Linked DNA regions of Homo sapiens: region 2 is linked to region 1. The links are contacts of gene promoters, found by promoter capture Hi-C in human tissues and cell types (Jung and others, 2019). All regions are on one chromosome and are shown on one strand. Each heading gives the region's core, a stretch centred on a gene start or on the middle of the fragment in contact. The rest is flanking DNA. Distances are from core to core; before and after follow the strand shown.

Region 1 (5,282 bases), core at 744-3,243:
GGCAGATCACGAGGTCAGGAGATCGAGACCATCCTGGCTAACACAGTGAAACCCCATCTCTACTAAAAATACTAAAAAATTAGCCGGGCGTGGTGGTGGGCGCCTGTAGTCCCAGCTACTCGGGGGGCTGAGGCAGGAGAATGGCGTGAACCCGGGAGGTGGAGCTTGCAGTGAGCCGAGACTGCACCACTGCACTCCAGCCTGGGCAACAGAGTGAGACTCCGTCTCAAACAAAAAGAAAAAAAAAAGAACTGAAGAGTGCAAGCTCGCATTTAAGTGTCAGGGCATCTGAGTCCCTAGGCAACTAGGAGCTGGAAGGTGAGAGGGAAACTGGAGTGGGGACGAGTGAGAGACAGCACAGCCACTTGGGTTCTACGAGGCATGGATGTCAGGGTCCCCATACCCTTCTTCTCGCCTGTGAAGGGCACCAAGTCATCACGCTCTTTGACTTCTAGTGCCTGTTGCTCCAAGTACTGCAAAAGGGCCTCTCGGTCCAGTGGCCCCGTTGGGCTCTTCTTTGTCTGGTCACGTTGTCTTAGTCCAGCTGGCAGGAGCATGTTCTTAGGGATGAGTTTTGGGGAGCAAGTCAGACCTCCCCTCTGACCTAGGTACTGCTAGGGCTCCCTAAAACATCACCGGACACCTTTCCCCTGGCCTTCTTAGGACCCTAGGTCCTGTAGCAAACCCTATTCTCAGCCACCCAGAGCCCAACACCCTTCCCAAATGCCTGGGACTGCCTCTGGTTCCCTGTGCTGGAGCCCCTACCTCAGGATCCATCTCCTGTAGTTCGCAGTCCAGCTGCTCTAGCTCCTCGGGGCTCAAGGTCCTTAGGATCTCATCTTCATCTATGTCTCTGTATTTCTCCAGTTCCTTCTGATATGATGACATGGTGGCCCCCACCCCCTCCCCACTGTGTGGTACTCACAGAGCCTGGGCAACATGGGACAAAAGGATGGACAATGGTAAGATGGACAGGGACACAGCAGGGACACAAAGAGACCAGCCAGGGGGGCAGAACATTGGATTGGATTTCTTGGAGATTAGAAGTCTAGTTGAGGATGGGAAGTGGGGAAGATTAGGTTGTTTAGAGTTAGAACTAGAGTCTCCTTTCTGCTTCCCCAGCTTCCAGCCACTCTGGATGGGGATCCCAGACATCTAAGCTGGGTTTGTCTTCCCACGGTATGACAGAGAAATCCTGGCAGCACCCCTCCCCTATAACCTCACTTGTCAGTGCCTTCGCCCTAACACAGCTGCTGGAAGCCCTGCCAACACAGCTGGTCCTATGCCCAGTTCCTATTGAAAGGGGATGAGGGGTGGGGGAATAGAGAGCTTCAGGGAAATTCCTCCTCTCCTCCTCATAATCCAGGCTTTTTCCTAAACCGGATAAAAAAACCAAGGACAATGAGGTGTAAGGGGAAGAGAGAGTCTCTTACCCCATCCTCATTTCCCTTTTATTGTGGGGGATCAAGATTTCACTTTCTGTGTTTGCTAAAATTTGAAGTCTTAAGGGAAAGCAAGGGCTCGGAGCAGTTGGGGGACTTCCAGGTTGGGGGAAGGGTAGTAAGGCCTCTGTGAGTCCCCATAATCTGTCCCTTGCTTTGGACAGGAAGGTGACACCAGACCAATGGGTGTAAATAGGGTAAAGTTTCTTTAAAAACAGTGGGAATATTAAACTCGCACAATTTTGTACAATATAAGATACGCATAAGGAGCTATGCATACACACCATGCTGAATATGAAAGATCCAGAAAGTATGTGAGACACATCGACAATGTAAACTATACACAGTTAAGGGGTAGGACGGCACAGTGGCAGAAATATACACTGAGTGACAGAGACAGGGACACACTCCACATCATTCCCCATAGGAGCCACTCTTCTCCTCCCATCTCCCACCGGGCTCTCATCCATAAGCCCCCTGTCTTCCCCACCTACCAGTCCTGGTGGTCACCTCCCTTCTCACCTCCCCTGTGTCAGTAGGTCTGTCTGTTCTACTAGAGCACTGTCCCAGCAGCAGGAGGAGCCCGGTGCCGGGGGAGAGGGTGGGGGAACAGTGAGCTCAGCATTTTATTATTTTAGCTCTGGCCAGGTGGGGGGTAGTGGGAGATCACATATACACAGCCCCCATACCCTGCCCAGCCCTGAGAGCCTCTAGTGGTCATTAACAGCCATGGCATCTCTTCCACTTCCCTTCATACAAGCCCCAGTCTGAGACATATGAGTTCGACTAGAATCAGCCAGTTCCTCCTTATTTGGTGCCTGCTGTATTCAAAACAGTGAGTGTAAAGTGATAGGAAGGTCAATACAAGGATGTGTTTTGGTGTGCAATTTTCAGATGTTTATAATTTAGTTGGAGGAATGAATACAATTTAGAAAGGACAGCTCATAATAAATGCTATCGAATAAAGACCCAAATATATGCAGGTATTCAAATACTTCTTGCTCCCAACCCTAGACTGGACACCAGACAAAAGGGATCTTTCTATTTTATTAGATTAAAAAACACAACGAAACCTGTAAGAACTAGGGGAAAAGGAAAAAGAAACAGATTAGGCAAAGATCAGAGATGACAAAGGGGAGAAGCAGGGAGAAGAAACGGAACAGCAAGAGCCCCAATCAGGGCAGGAAAGAAGTTTCTGAGGACTAGACATCTCTTCATTTAATGACAATTTTCTGGCGCAAGGCTCGGGGCCCAGAGCCAGGGAGGGGCTCAGGAGGTGGCGGGCCGGGGCCCAGGGCTGAGGCAGTGGGCGGCAGTCCATGGGCAGTAATGTACTTCTTGTAAGCCTCACGAATGATCTTGAAGGCTCGAGCAGTGGCATAGGGTATGTCTGTAACAGGGTCCCGGTATAGGGCTGGACGATGGGTCACTGGACAGACCTCACGAACAGGGACTTTTGGGGGCCGCCCTTGGGGGAACCATTCCTCGAAAGTTGCATCATCACTAAAAGTGATGAAGGTACGTGAGCAGCGAGCAGGGGGGTTGACGGGTCCAGTCCCAGCATGAGGAGTCAATGCAGACACCGAGGGAGCAGGATCAAGTCTGAGGACAAAAGACAAGGAAAAACACAAAGAGCTGAGGAGAGAAGACAACAGATACAGAAAGAAGGAAATCAGGCTGGGTGCAGTGGCTCACACCTGTAATTCCAGCACTTTGGGAGGCTGAGGCAGGCAGATGACGAGGTCAGGAGTTCGAGACCAGCCTGACTAACAAGGTGAAACCCTGTCTCTACTAAAAATACAAAAATTAGCCGGGCGTGGTGGCGGATGCCTGTAATCACAGCTACTCAGGAGGTTGAGGCAGGAGAATCACTTGAAGCCAGGAGGCGGAGGTTGCATGGAACCAAGATCGTGCCATTACACTCCAGCCTGGGTGACAGAGCAGCGAGACTCCATCTCAAAAAAAAAAAAAAAAGAAAAGAAAGAAAGAAGGAAATCAGAGAGATGAGGAAAGAGAAAAAGGAGGCAGGGTGTTGGGAACATTCTGAGGAACGTACTAAGTGACTGATGGGAAAAGAAAGCTAGGCTAGAAGGAAAAACAGGAAAGAGAAGAACAGAGAAGCTAAAAGAAAAAGGAATAAGAAAGAAATAAGCTGGGCTGGGCGCGGTGGCTCACACCTGTAATCCCAGTATTTTAGGAAGATGAAGCGGGACGATTACTTTAACCCAGGAGTCTGGGCAACACAGCGAAACCGTCTCTACAAAAAATACAAAAATTAGCATGTGTGGCTGTACTCCCAGCTACTTGGGAGGCTAAGGTGGGAGGATCGCCTGAGCACAGGAGGTGGAGGTTGCAGTGAGCCGAGACTGCACCACTGCATTCCAGCCTAGGTGACAGAGCAGCATCATGTCTCAAAAAAAAAAAAAGAAAAAGAAATTGAGCTGAAGGGAGTTAGGAATCTGAAAGAAATCTCCAAGTGTTAAGGAGAGCTGTGTGAGAAAAGCAAGCAAAATGGGGCCAAGAGAACATGAGCTGAACACACAATCTCTTTTCCTCTTGAGATTCACTCACCCTTCTATGTCAACGTTCTCTTCCTTGGGGCCTGGCTCCCCAACAAGTGGCACTGTCACTGAATGATAGGTGATTATGGGCCCGGGGCACTTCCGCTTCTTATGAACCTGCTTCTTTTTATCAGCCTCGAGCCGCTCATATGTCTCTTTAGGGTCAAAGGAAGAAATGAGGGGATGATCAGAATGTCCCTTTTTCCCATATCCCAGTACTGTCCCACGATCTCTCAATTATCTTCCTGGCTATCTAGTCACTGCCAACTACCAGAGACAACTATGGAAGTCCCCTAAGGCCGTCTGGCACCTCCCATTTTGTAAGTTTTCTGCTTATAAGTTTTTTCTTGACATCCTCTCTGCTCATTTCTCAAGTACACCTGGGCCCTCTATAGTACCTCAGAGTTGGAAGGTACCCTTTGATGAGGAGCTTATTTGCTTTCCCAGATACCAAAATCTCCTCTACAAATGCCCTGTCAATTCACTCCTACAGCTGGGTGTGCTGGCACACGCCTGTAATCCCAGCTACTTGGGAAGCTGAGGTGGAAGGATCGCTTGAGCCAGGGAGGTGGAGGTTGCAGTGAGCTGAGATGGCACCACATTGCACTCCAGCCTAGGCAGCAGAGTGAGATCATATCTCCAAAAAAAAAATTAGTAAGGTAGGAAATTATATTTAAATATAGAGATTTCTGGTCGCTCTTAAACAACAAGAAAATCTCGCAACCCTGGGTCTGCATTCTTACAGGGGAACAATTAGCTGAGCTGAGTAACTGTTCCTCCTTTCAGGCACTCCTCTCCAGTTCACCACCATCCCTCTGGCTGGCTGCACACTTCATGTTACCTGCCTGGTCTCCGTGATACTGCTCCATGGCGATGCACTATTGGTATATATGTCTCCTCCTTAAGGGCAGTGACTATAACTCATATTGCCTAAATATTATCAGGGTGATACAGCATTTTCCACATTACAGGCACTCATTAAATATTTGTTAATGAATAAATGAATCAAGGCTGGGCACAGTGGCTCATGCCTGTAATCCCAGCACTTTGGGAGGCCGAGGTGGGTGGATCACCTAAGGAAAGGAGTTCAAGACCAGCCTGACCAACATGGTGAAACCCCGTCTCTACTAAAAATACAAAAACTATCCGGGCGTGGTAGCACATGACTATAATCCCAGCTACTTGGGAGGCTGAGACAGAAGAATTGCTTGAACCTGGGAGGCAGAGGTTGAAGTGAGATTGCATTATTGCACTCCAACGCGGGCAATAAGAGCGAAAC
Region 2 (5,282 bases), core at 1,069-3,568, 910 kb before region 1:
CAGCCCACCCTGACCATTTATTCTGTACATAAATTTCTTATTCCAAACATGGACTCATTCCAAACTCTCTCCCTTTCCTTCTCTTCCAGGTGGGTGAGACTAAGAATATAGCTTATGAACACATTCTGAGTCACTTGCATGAAGTCAGGCATAAAGGTGAGCCTTAAAAATCTATAGCAGGAAGTAAGATTAGACTTTCAAAAACTATCCTTAAAAGCCTTGGGATGAAGCAATTACATAGAGCCAAGGAATTTTGCTTCTGGGAGCCCTATCTAGGTAAGCTAGGGCACACTGAAAGGAAGATGAGTCCCAGTCTGTTCTCCCCAGATCAGAAGACCTCAGTGCCTCCCTTCAACCTAAGAGAGCTGCTCCCCAAACAGCTGGGGCAGTACTTCCGCTACAATGGCTCGCTCACAACTCCCCCTTGCTACCAGAGTGTGCTCTGGACAGTTTTTTATAGAAGGTCCCAGATTTCAATGGAACAGGTAAGTGGTGGAGAAACGAGGTGAGGTGAGACACAGTTGTAACTTCAGACCCCTTCCCACTCCCCAAAGTAACACCTCTCCCACGCTTCTGCTCCTCAGCTGGAAAAGCTTCAGGGGACATTGTTCTCCACAGAAGAGGAGCCCTCTAAGCTTCTGGTACAGAACTACCGAGCCCTTCAGCCTCTCAATCAGCGCATGGTCTTTGCTTCTTTCATCCAAGGTGATTCTGCACGGCTCAGAAGAGATGGGAAACTGAGGGGGACACAATGGCAGGAACTAGGGAGCCAATGGGAAGAAAAGGCTAAAAGGGGAGGGGGTTTCTGGGACTTGCTTGGACTGGGAACCAACCCCCACCCCAGGGTGCCCCCGGGGGATTCTCCCAGGCACAGCAGCAGAGAGTGCTGCTCCCAGCTGGGATGGGGATCTGAAGTCCCACTGACCCATTTTCTTCTCTTACAGCAGGATCCTCGTATACCACAGGTAAGCCAGCCTTATAAGATAATGCGGGGAGGGGAGGTGTCCTCACCGAGTGGGGGAAAGGCTCAAAATCTATGTTAGTCCTAGGCTGACACCTTTTACCTTTATCTCCCCCAGGTGAAATGCTGAGTCTAGGTGTAGGAATCTTGGTTGGCTGTCTCTGCCTTCTCCTGGCTGTTTATTTCATTGCTAGAAAGATTCGGTGAGGCCCTACTTTCCATTCCTCCAGTCCCTTCTTCTTTTTTTTTTTTTTTTTGGTAGGTGGGAGACGGAGTCTTGCTCTGTTACTCAGTCTGGAGTGCAGTGGTGTGCAATCTCAGCTCACTGCAACCTCTGCCTTCTGGGTTCAAGCAATTCTCCTGCCTCAGCCTCCCGAGTAGCTGGGACTACAGGCACGCACCATCACACCCAGCTAATTTTTGTACTTTTAGTAGAGACAAGGTTTCACCATATTGGCCAGGCTGGTCTCAAACTCCTGACCTCAGGCAATTCGCCTGCCTCAGCCTCCCAAAGTACTGGGATTATAGGCATGAGCCACCCGCTTTTTGAGACAGGTTCTCACTGTTGTCGAGGCTGGAGTGCATGGCTTTATCACAGCTCACTGCAACCTCCACCTCCCGGGCTCAAGTGGTCCTCCCACCTCAGCCTCCTGAGTAGGTGGGACTACAGGCATGTGCCACCATGCCCAGATAATTTTTGTATTTTTAGCAGAGACGGGTTTTCACTACATTGCCCAGGCTGGTCTCCAACTCCTGACCTCAAGTGATCCGCCCGCCTCAGCCTCCCAAAGTGCTGGGATTATAGGTGTGAAACACCTTGCCCAGCCCTCTTTTCTGTTAAAAAGCATTCTCCTATTTCACCTCTAATCTGCTTCACTTAGATAGCAGTCATTCTCATGAGCCATTCCCCTTTCCAGGAAGAAGAGGCTGGAAAACCGAAAGAGTGTGGTCTTCACCTCAGCACAAGCCACGACTGAGGCATAAATTCCTTCTCAGATACCATGGATGTGGATGACTTCCCTTCATGCCTATCAGGAAGCCTCTAAAATGGGGTGTAGGATCTGGCCAGAAACACTGTAGGAGTAGTAAGCAGATGTCCTCCTTCCCCTGGACATCTCCTAGAGAGGAATGGACCCAGGCTGTCATTCCAGGAAGAACTGCAGAGCCTTCAGCCTCTCCAAACATGTAGGAGGAAATGAGGAAATCGCTGTGTTGTTAATGCAGAGAACAAACTCTGTTTAGTTGCAGGGGAAGTTTGGGATATACCCCAAAGTCCTCTACCCCCTCACTTTTATGGCCCTTTCCCTAGATATACTGCGGGATCTCTCCTTAGGATAAAGAGTTGCTGTTGAAGTTGTATATTTTTGATCAATATATTTGGAAATTAAAGTTTCTGACTTTAATTCTGGCCTATCCTTTGAGGCTCTTGAGGGTGGGCAAGTTCCTGAATCCCTCAGGTGGTAAAGATGGGCAAAGGATGGGGAAAAGAAGCATGGGTGATTAACTCCTTTTATCCCACCCCTGGAAGGAAAGATAAGCTTCTGGGAAGACACTTAACCCAAAGTTTCAGACATGTTAAACCACTAGCCCAGATTTCTGCCCTTGCACCAAGGCTATGCTTGGAAATCAGTGGTTGCCAGGTTAGGAAAGTGGCTGGATGAGAGATCTGAGGACAGAAATCTCAATTAACATGCTATCCCCTCCCTTAAAAGCCAAGTTCCCCCACAATTACAAATTCTTTTTTATTAGTCAAAATCACAATCACCTTGATTAAAAGGATGGGACACTCCACCCTCAGCAGAAAATGATACAGTTTATAGAAAACCTCCCCGCCCCTCCCACACCCCAATTAAAAACTACAAAAAAATCTCCCCTCCTTCCCTACGATGTCATGGTAGTCTGACTCCTCCAGTGGCACTGCAGCTCTGGAGTGGCCAGCTCACCACAGCACCCTCCACTTCACCTTGGGGAGAGGAGGGATGCTGGTGGTTAAGGAGGTTAAAACCATTAGTTCCAGTAATGCCAGTTCCCAAACATGCACTTCCTTCCTTTCCCCCAAGGTCTGGGACCAAGGAGAAAGGGACCGAAATGAGCCCAGCCATGAGGAGCAACTCGAGGAGAGAAAATATAGCCCAAGGAGGTTAGAAGAGTTCCAATATACCTCCTCCCTCCCCCCACCTCAAAAAAGAAAAAAAGGCAGTTTAGGGTATTTATCACACCAAAAATGGTTCCCCCTCAGGCCTGAGAAAAAGACCAAGATGTCCAGTCTTGAGGGAGTACTGAGAAACTCAGAGCTCATCTATCCTTGAGCCTCCATTAATTTCATCTCCAGGGCAATGGCTAAACTAGGTCCCTTTTCTTGGCAACCTGCACTGTCCAGAACTGGAGATGGAGAAATACAGGGCGAGGACATCAGGAGGGCACCCCAGGCCCAGGGGTCCCCCCTAGGTTCCCTCAGTCCTCGGGTGGGATGCGCAGGGCAGAATACACCATCACCCGACTGTCCTCCTGCCGTCGGCCTGCAGAGGGGAAGGGAGGTGAGTCTTGGGCAGGGTGAGAGCAGAGCACTGACACAGGGGGAGTCCTGGACACAACAAGGGGGTCCCCAGGTGGTGGGGATAAGTGCAGATTCAAACCCACCAGTCACTGACTGGCTGAACCCAGGCTGCTCCTGGTAAAGCTTAGAGACTAACGGTCACAAAAGGACAAAGCAAAACCCTGGAGGTAGTGGGGTAGACCGACGAGAAGGAGACAGAGAATGTGGGCAATGGACCCGGGCTGGGGCTGGGCTCAGTCATGGGCAGTGGACAGGCAGGTGGGATCTGTCAGGCGATCAGTCCAGGTAGTCAGTCCTTACACAAGAGGCTGCGCTGAATACTTCGGAGGGACCCTCCAGCTGTGATGAAGGCCCAGAGCCCCATGGAAACAGTGACTGCATAGATGGGCAGCAGGCTGGCCTCATACCAGGGGTTCAGGAATGTCTAGGAAGGAGGGTAAGAGTAGGAAAGAGATTAGATTCTCCCTCGACCTAATCCCCATATTCTCTCTGTACCTTTCTGACTCCCAGATATCTCTCTCAAATTCTCCAGTCTTTCCCTTCAGAGCACCAACATCTTGTGGTTAAGGGGACTTTTGATTTTCAGCTCCTCAGAAACTCAAAGGTTTCTGCCGCTCCTGCTCACCTCAGGCCCTCTGCATTACAGTTTGACTAATCCTTTCAACCTCCTCCCCAGAGCAGGTGATAGAAATGATGCTGAGGTGAGAGACCTTGAAAGACTCACCTTTCCTCCTCCTCCCAGGTAAGTTAAAAATGTTAAGAAGTGAGGATACCCTTTCCCCCACATCCCACTCACCATTAAATGCTTTTCTCCCTAACTCAGGCCCCTGTCTCCAACTCACCAGTCCCGATGTCAGTAGGTGACTCCCAACCACCAGGCCCAAAGCCCAGTACCGTCTCCTCTCACAGGCATCAAAGAACACAACTCCCCAAAAGGTATGGAGCAGGATAATGGCTGCTGTCAGAAAGGCTGCAGGGAGGGAGATGGGGAGGAGATACATCCCTGATCTTCTCCCAGGCTCCTGAGATGTTGAGCCAAAGAAGTCTCTCAGGGAAGGCCAATAAATCAGATCAGGGACAAGGATGGATGGGGGGTAAAGGCTAGATAGAAGGTGGATCTTACCTGAAGTCAGGAAGTAATAGGGTGAGTCTCCATGGATCCCAACCACACCTGGCCCAAGTGCATCAGCCAAAATATTGATAACAGAGAAGACACCACTGATGATACCGAAGGAGAGACCAGAAACTGGGGGAAGGGAGGATCTCATCAATGTCAGAGATCACACTATTGCCTGTTCACCACTGACCCCTCCCCATTCCCGGTTACAATTCTTTCACATCTACTCTCCCTCCAGACCAACTTTCTTTGGAAGTGACGGATGAAGGAAAGTAAGAAGCCACTTAGAACATGTGGATATTTAGAGACTTCCCTAGAGGAGGGGGCTGTCCAACTCCCTCCTCCAGTCCCTCTCCCTTGGCTCACCATAGGCCATCTGGCGGATGGAGATGGGTGATCTTCCGTCCTCACTCAGCGATGCTAACCCCTCATCTGCCTTCCTGGGGTGGGGTGGGGTAGGGGAAACATGAGGGAGGGCAGGGATGCTCCTTTCCCTCTAATGTCCTCCCTTAGTGCCTCCTCTTCCAAACCAGCACCCAGGGGCTGCCCCACTTCCCATAGTGCAGTCCTTTGCCCCTCTCCCCTCCAGACCACTCCATCTTCTTACTTAAGCAGCTTGTAGTAGGCAAAGCGGAACACCTCCTGTA

The links. Contacts are between HindIII fragments. The study calls those that stand out against the background at their distance.
Region 2: a contact is called between a fragment that was not itself captured here and the fragment with the promoter of TMOD4 in region 1, in 1 of the 25 tissues and cell types used here (spleen).

What each region holds. Positions count from the first base shown.
Region 1 is chr1:151,173,988-151,179,269 of GRCh38, forward strand. It overlaps TMOD4 (tropomodulin 4), which reads right to left and starts at 1,994. Exons shown (of 10, transcript NM_013353.3): 1 at 1,937-1,994; 2 at 766-930; 3 at 404-560. The coding sequence starts at 888. It overlaps VPS72 (vacuolar protein sorting 72 homolog), which reads right to left. Exons shown (of 6, transcript NM_005997.3): 5 at 4,014-4,158; 6 at 2,317-3,044. The coding sequence ends at 2,657. The HindIII fragment of the contact is 10,118 bases long and covers 1-5,282 here.
Region 2 is chr1:150,262,715-150,267,996 of GRCh38, forward strand. CA14 (carbonic anhydrase 14) reads left to right here. Exons shown (of 11, transcript NM_012113.3): 6 at 90-156; 7 at 328-485; 8 at 585-705; 9 at 945-965; 10 at 1,080-1,164; 11 at 1,879-2,364. The coding sequence ends at 1,945. It overlaps APH1A (aph-1A gamma-secretase subunit), which reads right to left. Exons shown (of 7, transcript NM_001077628.3): 2 at 5,243-5,282; 3 at 5,002-5,075; 4 at 4,642-4,764; 5 at 4,361-4,488; 6 at 3,819-3,942; 7 at 2,690-3,480. The coding sequence ends at 3,416. Among named protein-coding and RNA genes, the nearest start is that of APH1A, 3.7 kb to the right of the region's middle. The HindIII fragment of the contact is 1,504 bases long and covers 1,567-3,070 here.